Linked DNA regions of Homo sapiens: all the other regions are linked to region 1. The links are contacts of gene promoters, found by promoter capture Hi-C in blood cells and fetal thymus (Javierre and others, 2016). All regions are on one chromosome and are shown on one strand. Each heading gives the region's core, a stretch centred on a gene start or on the middle of the fragment in contact. The rest is flanking DNA. Distances are from core to core; before and after follow the strand shown. Region 1 holds the start of CT75 (cancer/testis associated transcript 75). Region 2 overlaps SGPP2 (sphingosine-1-phosphate phosphatase 2). Region 3 overlaps FARSB (phenylalanyl-tRNA synthetase subunit beta). Region 4 overlaps SGPP2 (sphingosine-1-phosphate phosphatase 2). Region 5 overlaps SGPP2 (sphingosine-1-phosphate phosphatase 2).

The links. The method cuts DNA at HindIII sites, captures the fragments that hold promoters and counts their contacts. A CHiCAGO score of 5 or more calls a contact.
Region 2: a fragment that was not itself captured here is called in contact with the fragment with the promoter of CT75 in region 1 in 8 of 17 cell types (M0 macrophages, M2 macrophages, M1 macrophages and 5 more); the score reaches 14.2 in M0 macrophages.
Region 3: a contact is called between a fragment that was not itself captured here and the fragment with the promoter of CT75 in region 1, in 10 of 17 cell types (M0 macrophages, M1 macrophages, M2 macrophages and 7 more). The highest score is 21.2, in M0 macrophages.
Region 4: a fragment that was not itself captured here is called in contact with the fragment with the promoter of CT75 in region 1 in 4 of 17 cell types (M1 macrophages, activated CD4 T cells, monocytes and 1 more); the score reaches 6.2 in M1 macrophages.
Region 5: a contact is called between a fragment that was not itself captured here and the fragment with the promoter of CT75 in region 1, in 2 of 17 cell types (M0 macrophages and M1 macrophages). The highest score is 6.3, in M0 macrophages.

The regions. Positions count from the first base shown.
Region 1 is chr2:222,317,163-222,319,862 of GRCh38, forward strand. It overlaps CT75 (cancer/testis associated transcript 75), which reads left to right and starts at 1,309. Exons shown (of 4, transcript NR_136642.1): 1 at 1,309-2,208. It overlaps RNF228 (ring finger protein 228), which reads right to left. Exons shown (of 1, transcript NM_001395871.1): 1 at 1-2,700. The coding sequence ends at 1,866. RefSeq lists enhancers at 1,002-1,597, 1,374-1,423 and a silencer at 1,894-2,223. The HindIII fragment of the contact is 3,961 bases long and covers 1,065-2,700 here.
Region 2 is chr2:222,548,765-222,551,464 of GRCh38, forward strand. The region is part of intron 4 of SGPP2 (sphingosine-1-phosphate phosphatase 2); the gene reads left to right. Among named protein-coding and RNA genes, the nearest start is that of FARSB, 110 kb to the right of the region's middle. The HindIII fragment of the contact is 928 bases long and covers 859-1,786 here.
Region 3 is chr2:222,567,266-222,569,965 of GRCh38, forward strand. FARSB (phenylalanyl-tRNA synthetase subunit beta) reads right to left here. Exons shown (of 17, transcript NM_005687.5): 17 at 1-2,700. Among named protein-coding and RNA genes, the nearest start is that of FARSB, 87 kb to the right of the region's middle. The HindIII fragment of the contact is 4,865 bases long and covers 1-2,700 here.
Region 4 is chr2:222,508,884-222,511,649 of GRCh38, forward strand. The region is part of intron 2 of SGPP2 (sphingosine-1-phosphate phosphatase 2); the gene reads left to right. Among named protein-coding and RNA genes, the nearest start is that of SGPP2, 86 kb to the left of the region's middle. The HindIII fragment of the contact is 1,986 bases long and covers 331-2,316 here.
Region 5 is chr2:222,526,522-222,529,221 of GRCh38, forward strand. The region is part of intron 4 of SGPP2 (sphingosine-1-phosphate phosphatase 2); the gene reads left to right. Among named protein-coding and RNA genes, the nearest start is that of SGPP2, 100 kb to the left of the region's middle. The HindIII fragment of the contact is 654 bases long and covers 974-1,627 here.

The DNA.
Region 1 (2,700 bases), core at 59-2,558:
GGGACATGTATTTAAGGAAGAGAAGTGCCACACAAATAATGGAGCAATTTTACCATGAAATTAATGTCATGAAAATAGATATTTCTATAAATACCTCTTGTTTTTATTATTAAGACAATGCAGACATAAAACACTTCATACTGTAGTTTCTACATTGCAGCCAAACCACTTATCAATGGCCAATAAATTACTTCACTCCTATGATAGATACAAATGCTCGATTCAAGTTCAATTAATAGAATAGTGTCAGGATATCATGCAGACAGCTTGCATAAATACTCGAGGAATAATAGCATACCTTCAGTAGATTCTGTGATTTTTAAGCATGAAAACTTTGTCTTATTCCAAATTTCAAAAGATGGAATAAAGAATGTTTTCATATAAAATACATTTGGAACAGTTTTCCTTCTTAAAAAAAAAGGCATCTAACCCACTTGCAACATATACTGGCAATTCATCTTTGTAGTTACAAAATCAGATAGATATATATTCTTTTTCATCTCATGTGACTGTATGTGAACATTTCAGTAATTCCAACAATATCAAACAGCTAAATTCAAAATCATATAATACTTTCTAATAAGTGTATACGATATATATCTTTTGTAGCCAAAGGCAGAAAGACCTTCAGTTAGTTGATTTCATGTTTGGGCACTAGTTTATATTTTATCAGATAATTAAAAGTCATTAGTTATTTCACAGTATAAAATATTGAATCAATTACCAACAGGCTTTTATTTTCTGCTCCTAATTTCGAAATGTATTTGGACTCGAGGTATGGGAATAATGTCACTGCTTATCAAACAATTTTCTGGAAATCTTAATGCACAAAAATTTCCAGATTTATATATTCAAAAATAAATTATATGTTAAATGAAATTAAGAAAAAAAGGCGAGGGGAAGGAGAAAATCTAGTTTATATTCTGTGTGAATAGCTTTCAATATCTTCCAGGTGGGGGCAACCGTAAGCCACTTTTGAGAGAAGGGAGAACAGGCTCTTTAAGCTCCCTGAGTCTAGTTACAGAAGACTTCCTGGCAGTAACACCGTGAATAAAACAACCACAAGCTTCCAGGAGATGAGACTTCTAGGCTCTGCTCCAGACAACACCCGGCCATGGGCAACAGGGCCCACCGCCCTGGGCGCGCCGCAGCCTCGGCCACTCCGAGTCGGCTCCGATCGCGCACGCGCGCCGTGCACCTGCCCCATCGCGCCCAGCTGCTGCCTGAGCTCCGGGCACGCCCGCGCTGTGCCGGCGGGGAGTGTCCGTCACTCTCAGCGCTCAGGATCTCTCCCTTTCCAGGACCGCTAGGAAGCAGGAAATCCTTTTCCTCTCACGTTTACATCCCATTCATTCTTCCTCCGGGCAATTCAAGTCCATTCACAGCCGCCACAGATGCACGTGTGCACGCGCGCAGCTGCACCTTTAAAGAAACTCTCAAGTCCTGGCGGCCAGAAAACCAGCTTTCAGGCGGGGCGGTGGGGCTCCCCCTCCCCTTGCTTCGTCTCTGCAGATCTTTGTGCTCTAGGGAGGGATGGCCGCACATTCTGACGAGGACGAGGGTGGTGCATAACGCGGAGGTCAATTTTGCACAGTCCAGGCAAAAGAGACCCCCCCCCCCCACCAACATCCCTTCCTGTTCAGTTTCCCTCTCTGGCCCAGCGCGAAGGGCGAGGGGCGACAGAAGCCCGAGGGACAGAAAACCGAGGCTCCTCAGTGGCCGAGTTGGGAGAGAGTGTGAGTCCAGGAGAGCCCGGGGGCAGCAGGGAGAGGGTGCAGAAGCTCGAGCGCACCGAGCCAGAGGCCCCCTCTTCTCCCGCCACGCGGGGCTGGAGGTGCAGGCGCCGGTTCCGCGGCGTGGCCCGGCTATGTGTCGCTCCTCCGCGCGCCGCCCGCCGCAGCCCGTGCCCTCGGGCCGCCGCCGCCGCCGCTGCCCCCCGTCGAGCCCGCGGCCGCACCCTCGGGCCGATACTTGAGCCAGCAGATGACCCAGGTGACAACGACCGAGAAGAGTGCCAGGATGCTGGCCACCGACAGGCAGATGGGCCCCACGGGCGAGGGCGAGGGCGACCCGGTGGCCGGTGCCTCGCCAGGGGGCGCCCCGCCTCCGGGGGTTCCCCCGCCGCCGTAGTGGTTGACGAAGATGAGGCCGGTGAAGAGCAGCACCACCATGGAGAGGAAGGAGAAGACCACGCACACGCAGCCAGCGGTGAGCGCCGCGCGCTTGCAGTTCTGGCAGCTGTCGTAGGCGCCCGGGGCGCGCAGGCCGGGGCGGGCTCGAGGCCCGGGGGCCGCGTCCTCGGCAGGCGGCGGCGGCGGCGGCTGCGGTGGGGCGGGGGAGGGCGGCGGTGGCGGGGCCGGGGTGGGCGGCGGGGCAGCAGCGGGCGCGGGCAGGCGCGCGGGCAGCGGCGGGAGGCGGTCCTGGGGCAGCGGGTCGTGCGCTGCGCGCAAAGCCAGCGGGAAGGCCTCGGCTAGCTTGGTGTTGTTGGGCAGGCCGTGCACGCGGCTGTCGGGCAGCGGCGTGCGGTGGCGGCACACCGGGCACGCGATGGCGCCGGGCGGGCAGAGCCAGGGCGGCGGGCGCGGCGGGCGCTCAGGCGCGGCGGCAGCGGCGGCGGCGGCGGCGGCGCGGAGCTGCAGCTGGCTCAGGCACTCCTGGCAGAAGGTGTGCAAGCACGCCAGCAGCTTGGGCGCGCGCCGG
Region 2 (2,700 bases), core at 73-2,572, 230 kb after region 1:
TAGGTTTCTCTCCGTAATCATTTATATTCATATTCATGAATAATGTTGCCTCCTCCTTGTGATTTGGCTGCTATTGAATCTCATCTGCATTATTCTCAGCAACTGATTTCATTTTGAGCTAGCATAGAAAAGAATAAATATTCTGAGTCTGTTAACTAGGAAACATTGACTGATCTATGACTAAAAGTTATTTTCTAGAGTAACTGCAGTGTTTTGGTTTGTTTCAGTTTGTTTTAATGTCAGTGTCTGCTTGCCTACAAAGCATTCGCAGCATCTGCAAAGAAGTGGGTCTTGGCTTTTACTCTGCTCCTGGCTTCAGCTTACTCTGTGAAGGCAGCCAAGGGCAGAGAAGTCCCTTCACATTCTCAGCAGGGGACCTGGCAGAGGGGAAGATGCCAGAATCATAGAGTTCTCAGCATAAATAGTTTCAAGATCTGAATGCATTCTTTCCTAACAATTGACTGAATGGGTTTGTTCTCTCCCTTTCTTTCTCACTAGCGCTAACCTTGTGTTGTGTTGGCCTGTTCAATAGCATTCTTCAGGGAAGATGTTTGGAGATAGAATGGAAATTTGTCGCAGTAAACTGCATATGGGAATGTGATGTAGGGTCAGAATTAATAAATGCTGGGAGTTTTCAGGTTTAGGGTCTGCTGTTGAGATACCCAGTGATGTTCACTAAAAAAAGGAGTGTTTCTGTTTGGCTAAGAATGAAAACACTCTATTTTATGTGTTTATATAAGCATTTACTTTTAAAATTTGTTCTGATGCTTAGGGTAGCTCTATTAGCATTCTTTTCTACACACTGGAGCTTGTCTGCCTCTATTATTGTTTCCTGTAATGAGAATATAATAAAGCTCAAGCTTTTACCTAAATATCAAGTTTTATAACTGAAAATGAAAATAGATTAAAAAATCAAAGCGATTTAGAACTTTCTGCATTTGAACGTTGGAAAATGTTAGTTTTGTGTAATGATTCCTTTTTTTTTCCAAATAATTTAAAAGGATACATATAAACCTTGGATGGCAAACTGAATTAAAGGTTGACTGTATTTCAAACAATGCAATCCATAGGGTAAGGCTGGAAACACATCTTGTATGCTTTTTCTTTTCTTTTCTTTTCTTTTTTTTTTTTTTGAGACAGTCTCACTCTGTCACCCGGGCTGAATACAGTGGCACAATCTCAGCTCATTGCAACCTCCACCTCCCGGGTTCAAGCAATTCCCCTGCCTCAGCCTCCTGAGTAGCTGGAACTACAGGCACGCGCCACCACGTCTGGTTAATTTTTTTGTATTTTTTGGTAGAGACAGGGTTTCACCATATTGGCCAGACTGGTCCTGAACTCGTGACCTCGTGATCCACCCGCCTCGGCCTCCCAAAGTGCTGGGATTACAGGCATGAGCCACCGCACCCAGCCTGTATGCCTTTATTTTAAAAGTTACTTGGATCATGGAGGAATGGTATATTGCTTATCATATAGATTCTTAGGGATATTTCTTTTTTTGGCATGATGTGAAAATTATAAACAATCATTTCTAGTTTAGTCTGTTTTGAAACACTTTGATTTTCACATTCTGATTTTTTTCCTCCTTGATTTCATTTTATTATAATAAAAATAACAGGTATTGACTAGAAAATTTGGAAGATCCTGGAGTATAGAGAAGATAATAGTCATCTGTAATGTCACAACACAGAGAATAAATTACTCTTAACATTTTTATTTCCTTCTGACATTTTATCCATGCTTACAAGTATATATTTATATAAAATTAGGATCATACTTTCTGTAAAGCTTGTATTCTGTTTAAAACATCTCACTTATGGTTACCTTGAAACCATAGAAAATGAGGTTGCAGAAATTTGTCTTTTCACATGGAAAATGTTCCTGCTATATTATTAAATAAGGCAGCGTGGTTTTTATCTCATTTTTGGTGTAAGCAGCATAATATGCTTGATTTATTGTTCTAGAGTCTTTCTTATTATGATGTATGTTCCATACTTTCTGCATTTTTGCTTGTTTCTGATGTTTCTGTAATGGAGCATGTGTTACTTTTTGGACTTAAATGGCATGAGCTGAAATAACCCAACAAGAACCAAACAGGAATCATCCCTGTATGTAAACTTCATGAGCAGCCTTATTATCGTCTCTGGTTATTTTCTTAGAATCAATTCCTAGGAGTGGAATCACTGGGTCTAGGTGTTTGAATATGCTGTATATTTTGTATACTTTGTAGTCTAGTTATACTTCTCTATGGGAAGGAGTTTTACATTTGTTCTTTGCAAAGTAAAGAATACTTATTCTCACCATTTTTGCTCTCATGTCTTTCCCTTATCATGCCTTTTGCACCATTCTCTTTACCTGTCTTCCATATATTTCTTATGTTCCCTATCAACCATCTGCACTCTTTCCTCTCTTCTCCCTATCCCTCAAATCCACCCGTTCAGGACAGTTATCCCTATTTTTTCCCCTCTGTTACACAGTCATCTGCCCTATAGCTTGTCCTTGCTGTCCTGTAGAACCGTGAACCGTTTTCCCTCTGGCCTCACATACTGTGCCAAGCACTATGCAGCTCCAAAGAAGTAACCTCCTAACTTTGAATATGCAAAAAAATAAAAATAAAAAGAACAGATCCAGTTCAGAGACAGATATTTTGTGAGCTTTCATAGTTTCTGTGAATTTAATAGCTTAAAAAAAAACTAACAT
Region 3 (2,700 bases), core at 63-2,562, 250 kb after region 1:
AGGCCCTAATAACATAATAAGCCAGAACTTGGATATCAGATGGGTCAAAGGCTTTCAATGCTTAGGAGGCATATTCTGCTTAAGGCAATGGTGTCCCTTGAAGGCTATCTGTTTGCTTTTGGATAAAATGGACAGAAGGGCCAAAGTAAATACTCAAGTATTAGGGTTAGTGATGTTATATAAAACACCAAGCACAAATAGATTAAGATTGAGAAGCAAGATTGTGAGTAATGTTCTCTCTTACCAAGCTGATGAGCCCATCATTGCTGAGAGCAGGGGCAGTGGTTAGGCTGGCTGGTTTGTAGTAGATTACTCCTGTTTAAAATGTGAGAACAGTCATTCAACATGTTTTAAATTCAAAACACATCCTTTGACCTAGCGACTTCTACATCTAAGATGTAAGGTACTGGAATAATATATAGTTCAAGTACAAACGTCACATCAAAGAAATATCTAATGAACTCTATGCATCTCTGAATGTGTCTGTCAAATGTGGATATTTATACAGTCTTGCACCCATTAGGACTGGTTTTCCTTGGGGTCCTAAGCCAGTGCTATTTAGCAGGATAGGGGGTTCATTGGAGCAGTGTTTATAATTGCAAACAGTTGGAAACAACTGAATGTCCACCAACAAGGGAATAATTGAACAATTACGGACATCTGTACAATAGAATATTACCTCATTTAAAAGAATGAGATAGGTCTATAGGCACTGACCTGAAAAAATGGGGCATATTAAGTGAAATGTCATGAGATATATGTAAAATAAAAAACAAAACTTGTTGCAAACCAGTAAGTAGAGCATGACCCCCAAAAATGTGAGCAGGTGTGTGTGGCTGACTGTACAAATCAAGGAAAATGTCCAAACTAAGGAACAATACAGGCTAAATTGTTAACAGCAGTTAGTTACTTCAGGGAATCAGGAGGAAGAAAGGTAGATTAACTCAGTAAGGCCACAGTTTGCAGAGTTTTTTTAAAGTATTGGACTTAACAATTTTTAACTTTTTGTCTCCCATTATTTTTATATTTTTAAAAAGTGTAGAAAGTCCCATTATTTACTTTCGCATAAATAAGTAAATAATGCAAATCAGTGAGTGGTCTGTGGACTCCAAGTCACTCTTTTATAGTGTCTCAAACTCATTTATTGGCTATGTGACTTCTGAGTAAGTTATTGATCTCTCTGAAACTCAACTGTTTTCACCCTACACATCAGGGAGAATTCCTACTCTCATACCGTTATTAAACCAAAAAAATTAAAATGTGAAAAAAGATCAATTCAAAAATAATTTAAAAACAGAAGAGCAGGCTGGGCGCCTGTAATCCCAGCACTTTGGGAGGCAGAGGTGGACAGATCGCCTGAGGTCAGAAGTTCGAGACCAGCCTAGCTAACGTGGTGAAACCCCGTCTCTACTAAAAATACAAAAATTATCCAGGCATGGTGGCACACACCTGTAGTCCCAGCTACTCGGGAAGCTGAGGCAGGAGAATTGCTTGAACCCAGGAGGTGGAGGTTGCAGTGAGCCAAGATTGTGCCATTGCACTCCAGCCTGGGTGACAGAGCGAGACTCCGTCTAAAAAAACAAAAAACAAACAAAACTAGAAGAGCACTGCAGGACTGTGAGGCTGTAGTGGTAGAATTTAAGTTTTTTCTAAGCTAGAACAAAAATCAATTCCATTTAATTTTCACTTTAATACTAGAGCTCCCAGTTTTTACTAAGAAGGTGTGCATCTTCTGTAATAAAGGCTTTTGGCAGTACTCACAGACTGCCCTGGCTCCAGTTCAAATGCTTCACCAGGGACAAGTGTAAGATGATCTGGCTGCAGAGCCTCGACTCATGAGCTGGATTCGCTTCTTCCAATGCAGCCGACACTGTTTTTCTGCCTACCATTTCCTGCTTCCGAGGGCAGAAACATCTACATGATGCATGGAGTTGATCTTTCCCCTTTCATGCTGGGATATACAATTAGGCATTAGTGGGTTTTTCATTACAAGTAATTTTGGCCACCCCCAAAAATATCCAGGTGGGTAGCTGCTGACAGAACAAATGGTTCCACCTACTTCAACAAGGGCTATCATATGATGATCCATAAGCCATGATTTTAACTAGAGCGAACCTGAAACTAAGGGAGAATATATCATTAATAGCTGTGGACCAGTGAGCCACCTTGAGCACAACTGCCAATTCTACAGTTCAGGCTATTTCTCTAGGCATTTATCAACTGGTGTTATGTAGTTAAAATCAGTAAAATACTACATGTTACATTACATTCTTTTTCTCCCAGCTTTACAAAGGTATAACCTACACCTGAAGTACACCTACCACCTCAATTAAGATAAAATTTCCATCACCCCAAAAAGTTTTCTCTTAACCCACTGCAGTCAGTTCTCTTTCCTGAGGTCCTGCCGACCACCTGCTTTTGACTTTTTTAGACTCTCAGGTAAATAGAATTAAATAGAGTCTTTTGTGTCTCTTGCTTTCACTTAGCATACTGTTTTGAAATTCATTCATGTTGTTTTGAGGATCAGTAGTTCATTCCTTCTTATTGCTGAGAAGTATTTCATAGTATGGATATACTGCAATTTGTAACTACTATAAGTAACACTGTGAACACTTGCATAAAAATCTTTGGCCATATGGGTAAACCTAGGAATAGAATGGCTAGATGGTAGGTGTATGTTTCAAGAGACTGCCAAGCTGT
Region 4 (2,766 bases), core at 74-2,573, 190 kb after region 1:
ATTGCTTCTCCCAGCGTTACACACACACACATCACATCCAGCAAAAAAAGCAAAAAAGCTCTGAATTTAAAAAATAAAAATAATGCCAGAAGTATGAGTGGCTATTCACCAGTTGGAAATAGCTTTTCACACTGGATGGTAAACAGTAGCCTTTAGAGTGTTTCCAAATAACCATCACCAAGAATTGCTTTTAATTCACTCCCAGACGCTAAATAGGAGACCACAGAGCACTTTGTATTCCAAGGAGAAAAAAAAAAGACTGAACATTGAATAGACAAAAACACAATCTAGTGCAGTCAATCTCTTTTTTGTAAGACTGTTGATTTGAGAAGCTTCCATGATGACCCAACATAAAGAAGAGGTGAATGTTTGGGGTGATGGGTGTCCCAGTTGTCCTGGTTTGATCATTACACATTGTATGCATGTGTCAGAATATCACATGTCCCCCCAAAAGATGTATAACTATTATGTATTAACAAAAAAAAATCAGTATAATTGTTATGACATATAATGATATACTAATTTTGATAAGAGCAATATTTTAGGCATTAATAAATATAATGTAGCTTTTAAAGAAAGCCTCCAAAGCTAAAAGTTGTTCTGAAAATGAATCCTGTGTACTTATGGTTGTGAGTAGTGGATTTTCAGCAGCTCTCTGGTATGTACTCACTTCAGTGCCCTGTGGACGGGCAGAATTGAACAGGATTTTTGAAGAAAAGACTATTAATAGTTCTAATAGTTTGCTTCTTCTTCTATTCTGAAATCAATATGTGAAGGCATTGCAATAACATTTTGGAACAAGAGACTTCAAGAACACATAGAAAAGGTACACCAGGACTTATCTTGATGTCTCATTTCTCTTTCTTTTTAAAATTGAGATATAATCCACATATGATAATAGTCAACCTTTTAAAGTATACAATTCAGCATATTCACAGAGTTGTGTAACCATCACCACTATCTCACTTCAGAACATTTTTACCCCCTGAAAAGGAACCCCAATATCCATTAGCACACACTACCGTAGGCAGTGGGGCTAATTTACTTTCTATCTCTATGGATTTGCCTCTTCTGAACATTTCATGTAAATGGAATCATACAATGTGTGTCCTTCGTGTTTGACTTCTGATTTCACTCAGCATTACTGTGTTCACCAGTACTTTCTTTCTTTCTATGGCCAAATAATATTCCATTGTAAATATATAGCACAGTTTGTTTATCTGCCTATCAGTCGATGGACATTTGGGTTGTTTAAACTTTTTGGAAACTGAGAAGAATGAGGCTACCAAATGCTAACAACATTTACATACAAGTTCCAGTGAGGACACATGCTTTCCATTCTCTTAGGGATACACCTAGGAGTGGAATGGATGAGTGTCTGGTGTCTGTTTATCCAAGTCATCTTACTGGTAAGCTGAGAAAAAAAGGGAATGAGATGCATTTGGATAAATTAAGAAACAGGATAGGTACGTACTGGTAGAGAGGCTGTGGTCTTTGGGTTACAGCTCATTGTTCTCTTGCCTCCAACAGTCAATGACATAACCAGTTCCTGACTTTTTGGAAACAAACCCGTAGATAGACTGTAAATCCCAGCAGTTTGCAGTGTTTCTACCCCATGAGACATGAGGAATAATCATATGCTCCTGTTAGTTAACAGCACATCACTTTTGCTATTTCTCCATGGTGGAGGGGGCTATGAGTGTAGCCAAGGGAAGGAAAAAAGATATTGGGATCTTTCAATTTTTTTTAATATGGTGGGTGTAATTTGAAAAGAGCCTCTTGGTGCTCCGTTCATCCTGCAGAGGACTTAGGTTTTATTATGATCATATGGAGCCTTTGCTCTTTTCAGATGAGGGTATTTTGCGGGGATGAAGACAAACAGGGGCAGCTCCGTAGTGTATACAAAAATGTAAACAAAAGTGTAAAACAGTTCATCATGTCCTGTTTTCCTTCAGGGAATGGAAGATGTTAACAGAGAGAAAAGTTTGAAGGCAGACATTCAGAAGAAGCTAGGAGGAGAAGCGTCTTATATTAATGTGGGCCAAAAATGGAAGTGTGGCTTGGCTTTTTAAAATCCTGTGGCTGGTTTACTAGTAATAATGTTATTTCAAAATATTTTGTTTTCAAAATTATTTAGGTGTTATTTATGCTAGTGTAAAGAATAAAGTCTGGCTAATTGGAAATGTGTTAGACATGGTACACACTGTCATTTTTTACTGTAATAACCAGAAAGGGCCACTACACTAAGAGAAAAAGTGCCGTTTTCTCTGCCGTCCCCATATGAGCCCAGCCATCCAGAACAGAGCCCATGCTGGAAGCTTTTCCACACTGTAAGGACAAGTTTCATATTGACCGCATTGGTTCCCTGGAAAACCTTTTGTCTGCCTGGGGTGAATGGTCGACTATCCAGAGAACCAGATTTTCTTTCTATCTATATATTACATTTATCCTGCATTCAGAGCAGAAGAAGAAAATAGGCTAATTCCCCTTCGTGAAAACCTACGGGACCTCCATGCCATCCTTCAATACCATGTGGGGGCCCCTAGCCAGTTTACTAAGGTGTTAATGGTCTGTAATTACTTCCCGTGTTGCCTCCTTATGGGTTTTTGCTTTCATGCACAGGACTTTAGGGCCTCAACCCAAAGAAGTATGATGGATGATGGAACTTAATTGGGTCCTTTTTGGAAAGTGGCCTCTTCAACAATACAGAGAAAAGCCCTCCACTTAGGGCAAGCCACACGTTGAGTTAATCGTTATACTCTTTAA
Region 5 (2,700 bases), core at 51-2,550, 210 kb after region 1:
GTTCATAGACTTCAATATGGAATGAAGAACTCTTGGGTTCTCTGGCATCTCTTTTTATCTGGGGCTACTGTTTAATTTCTGTAGGCTTTAATAAAATATGATCTTGGTAATGATAGACTGGATAAAGAAAATGTAGTACATATACATCATGGAATACTATGCAGCCATGAAAAGGAATGAGATCATGTCCTTTGACATGGATGAAGCTGGAAGCCATCATCCTCAGCAAACTAACACGGGAACAGAAAACCTAACACCACATGTTCTCACTCATAAATGGGAGTTGAACAGTGAAAACACATGGACACAGGGAGGGGAACAACACACACCATGGCCTGTTGGGAGGTTGGGGGTGAGGGGAGGAACTTAGAGGATGGTCAATAGGTGCAGCAAACCACCATGGCACACGTATACCTGTGTAACAAACCTGCATGTTCTGCACATGTATCTCGGAACTTAAAGTAAAATTTAAAAAAGAATGATCTCGAGAACTCGGGTTAAAGTTAAAATGAAAGTAAGCACGAGCATGTAGAGCTACAGAGATGAGTAAAGAGTACACAAAACCCACCTCAATAGAAACACAGCTACAGCTTTTTCTTTTTAAAGTGAGTTGTGGGGACAGTAAGCAGATATTTAGGGGAAGATAGATTAGGCCTGTCATCCAGATGCAAGGAATATTATATGCTTTTTTTAGACATAATGCAGTTGCACACTTAGTAGACAACAGAATAGTGTAAACATTTTTATATGCACTGAGAAACAAAAAAAAAATTGTGTGACTTGCTTGATTGTGATATTGACTTGATGGTGATGGTTTGGAACTGAACCCGCTGTGACTCTGAGTTAGGCCTGGATGTCACACTATGTTCATCCATTCATCTGTCAGTGAACACTTGGGCTCACCTTTAGGCTACTGTGAATAAGGCTTCTCTGAACATGGGGTTTCAAATATCTTCAGAGAGATTTTTTTAGAAGCTTCCCATGGGGTTTGAATATGCAGCTATGGTTGAGAGCCATTATAAAAGACATTCCCTAGAGATTGTGAGGGGCCCAGGGAAGGGGCACCGCCCCCTTTTGGGAGCATTTGTCCCAGAAGAAGCTGGAGCAAGAGGCCACAGCAACCATTGTCCCCAACCCCATCTGTTCTGTCAGGACCCAGGGCTTCTTTCATGCTCATAATTTTATTTCATAAAGATCTTAGACCCTGACTCAGGCTTAGGCCCAGGTACCAGTCAGGCTACAGGACCAGAGAATGGCCTAGGGTGCAATGATGAGTAATTTTTAGTAGAAGGGAACAGTTGGTTTTAATAGTAGGATAAGGTAGAATTATGGATTAGTTGCCTTTATTCAGCAGCAACTTAATCAGCTCCTACAGGCCCCTGGACTTGGAATGAGATCTGGGAGCTCTTGTGGTAAAGAAACCTATGCCACCCCTCAGGTGTCCAAGTCTACTGAAGGAGACAGATGTCTACACTGCTGATTACCTGACATGATGATATAGTTAGGATGGAATAACTGGATTGAGCCAACTATGATAGCGTGCCCCTTCCCTGGGCCCCTCACAATCTCTAGGGAATGTCTTTTATAATGGTTCTCAACCATAGCTGCATATTCAAACCCCATGGGAAGCTTCTAAAAAAATCTCTCTGAAGATATTTGAAACCCCATGTTCAGAGAAGCCTTACTCACAGTAGCCTAAAGGTGAGCCCAAGTGTTCACTGACAGATGAATGGATGAACATAGTGTGACATCCAGGCCTAACTCAGAATCACAGCGGGTTCAGTTCCAAACCATCACCATCAAGTCAATATCACAATCAAGCAAGTCACACAATTTTTTTTTTGTTTCTCAGTGCATATAAAAATGTTTACACTATTCTGTTGTCTAGTAAGTGTGCAATTACATTATGTCTAAAAAAAAGCAATGTACATATAATATCTTAATTTAGAAATAATTTACTGCTAAAAAATGCTAACAATGATCTGGGCCTTCTGTGAGTCATAATGTTTTTGCTGGTGGAGGGTCTGGCTCAGTGTTGATGGCTGCTGACTGCGTAGGGTGGTCATTGCTGAAGGGTGGAGGGGCTGTGGCAAGTTTTGTTTTTGTTTTTGTTTTTGAGACATCTCAGTCTGTCACCTGGGCTGGAGTGCAGTGGTGAGATCTTGGCTCACTGCAATGTCTGCCTTCTAGATTCAAGCAATTCTCATACCTCGGCCTCCCGAGTAGCTGGGACTACAGGCATGCACCACCACATCTGGCTAATTTTTGTATTTTTATTAGAGACAGTGTCTCACTATGTTGCCCAGGCTTGTCTCAAATTCTTGGGCTCAAGCAATCATACCACCTCAGCCTCCCAAAGTGCTGGGATTACAGGCATGAGCCAGCGTGTCCTGTTTCTTAAAATAGACAACAATGAAGTTTGCCGCATCAATTGACTCTTCCTTTTAGGAAAGATTTCTTTGTAGAATGCCAATGCTGTTTTTTTCCTTATTTTTCTCCCCTTTACATATGCCAAATCATGTGATGATATTTGATAACCTTTTACCTGGAGGAGAACTTTCAAAATTAGAGTTAATTCTCTCAAACCCTGCAATTGCTTTATCCACTACGTTTATGTAATATTCTGTCCTTTCTTGTCATTTTAACAATGTTCACAGCATCTTCACCTGGAGTAGATTCCATCTGAAAAGATTACTTTCT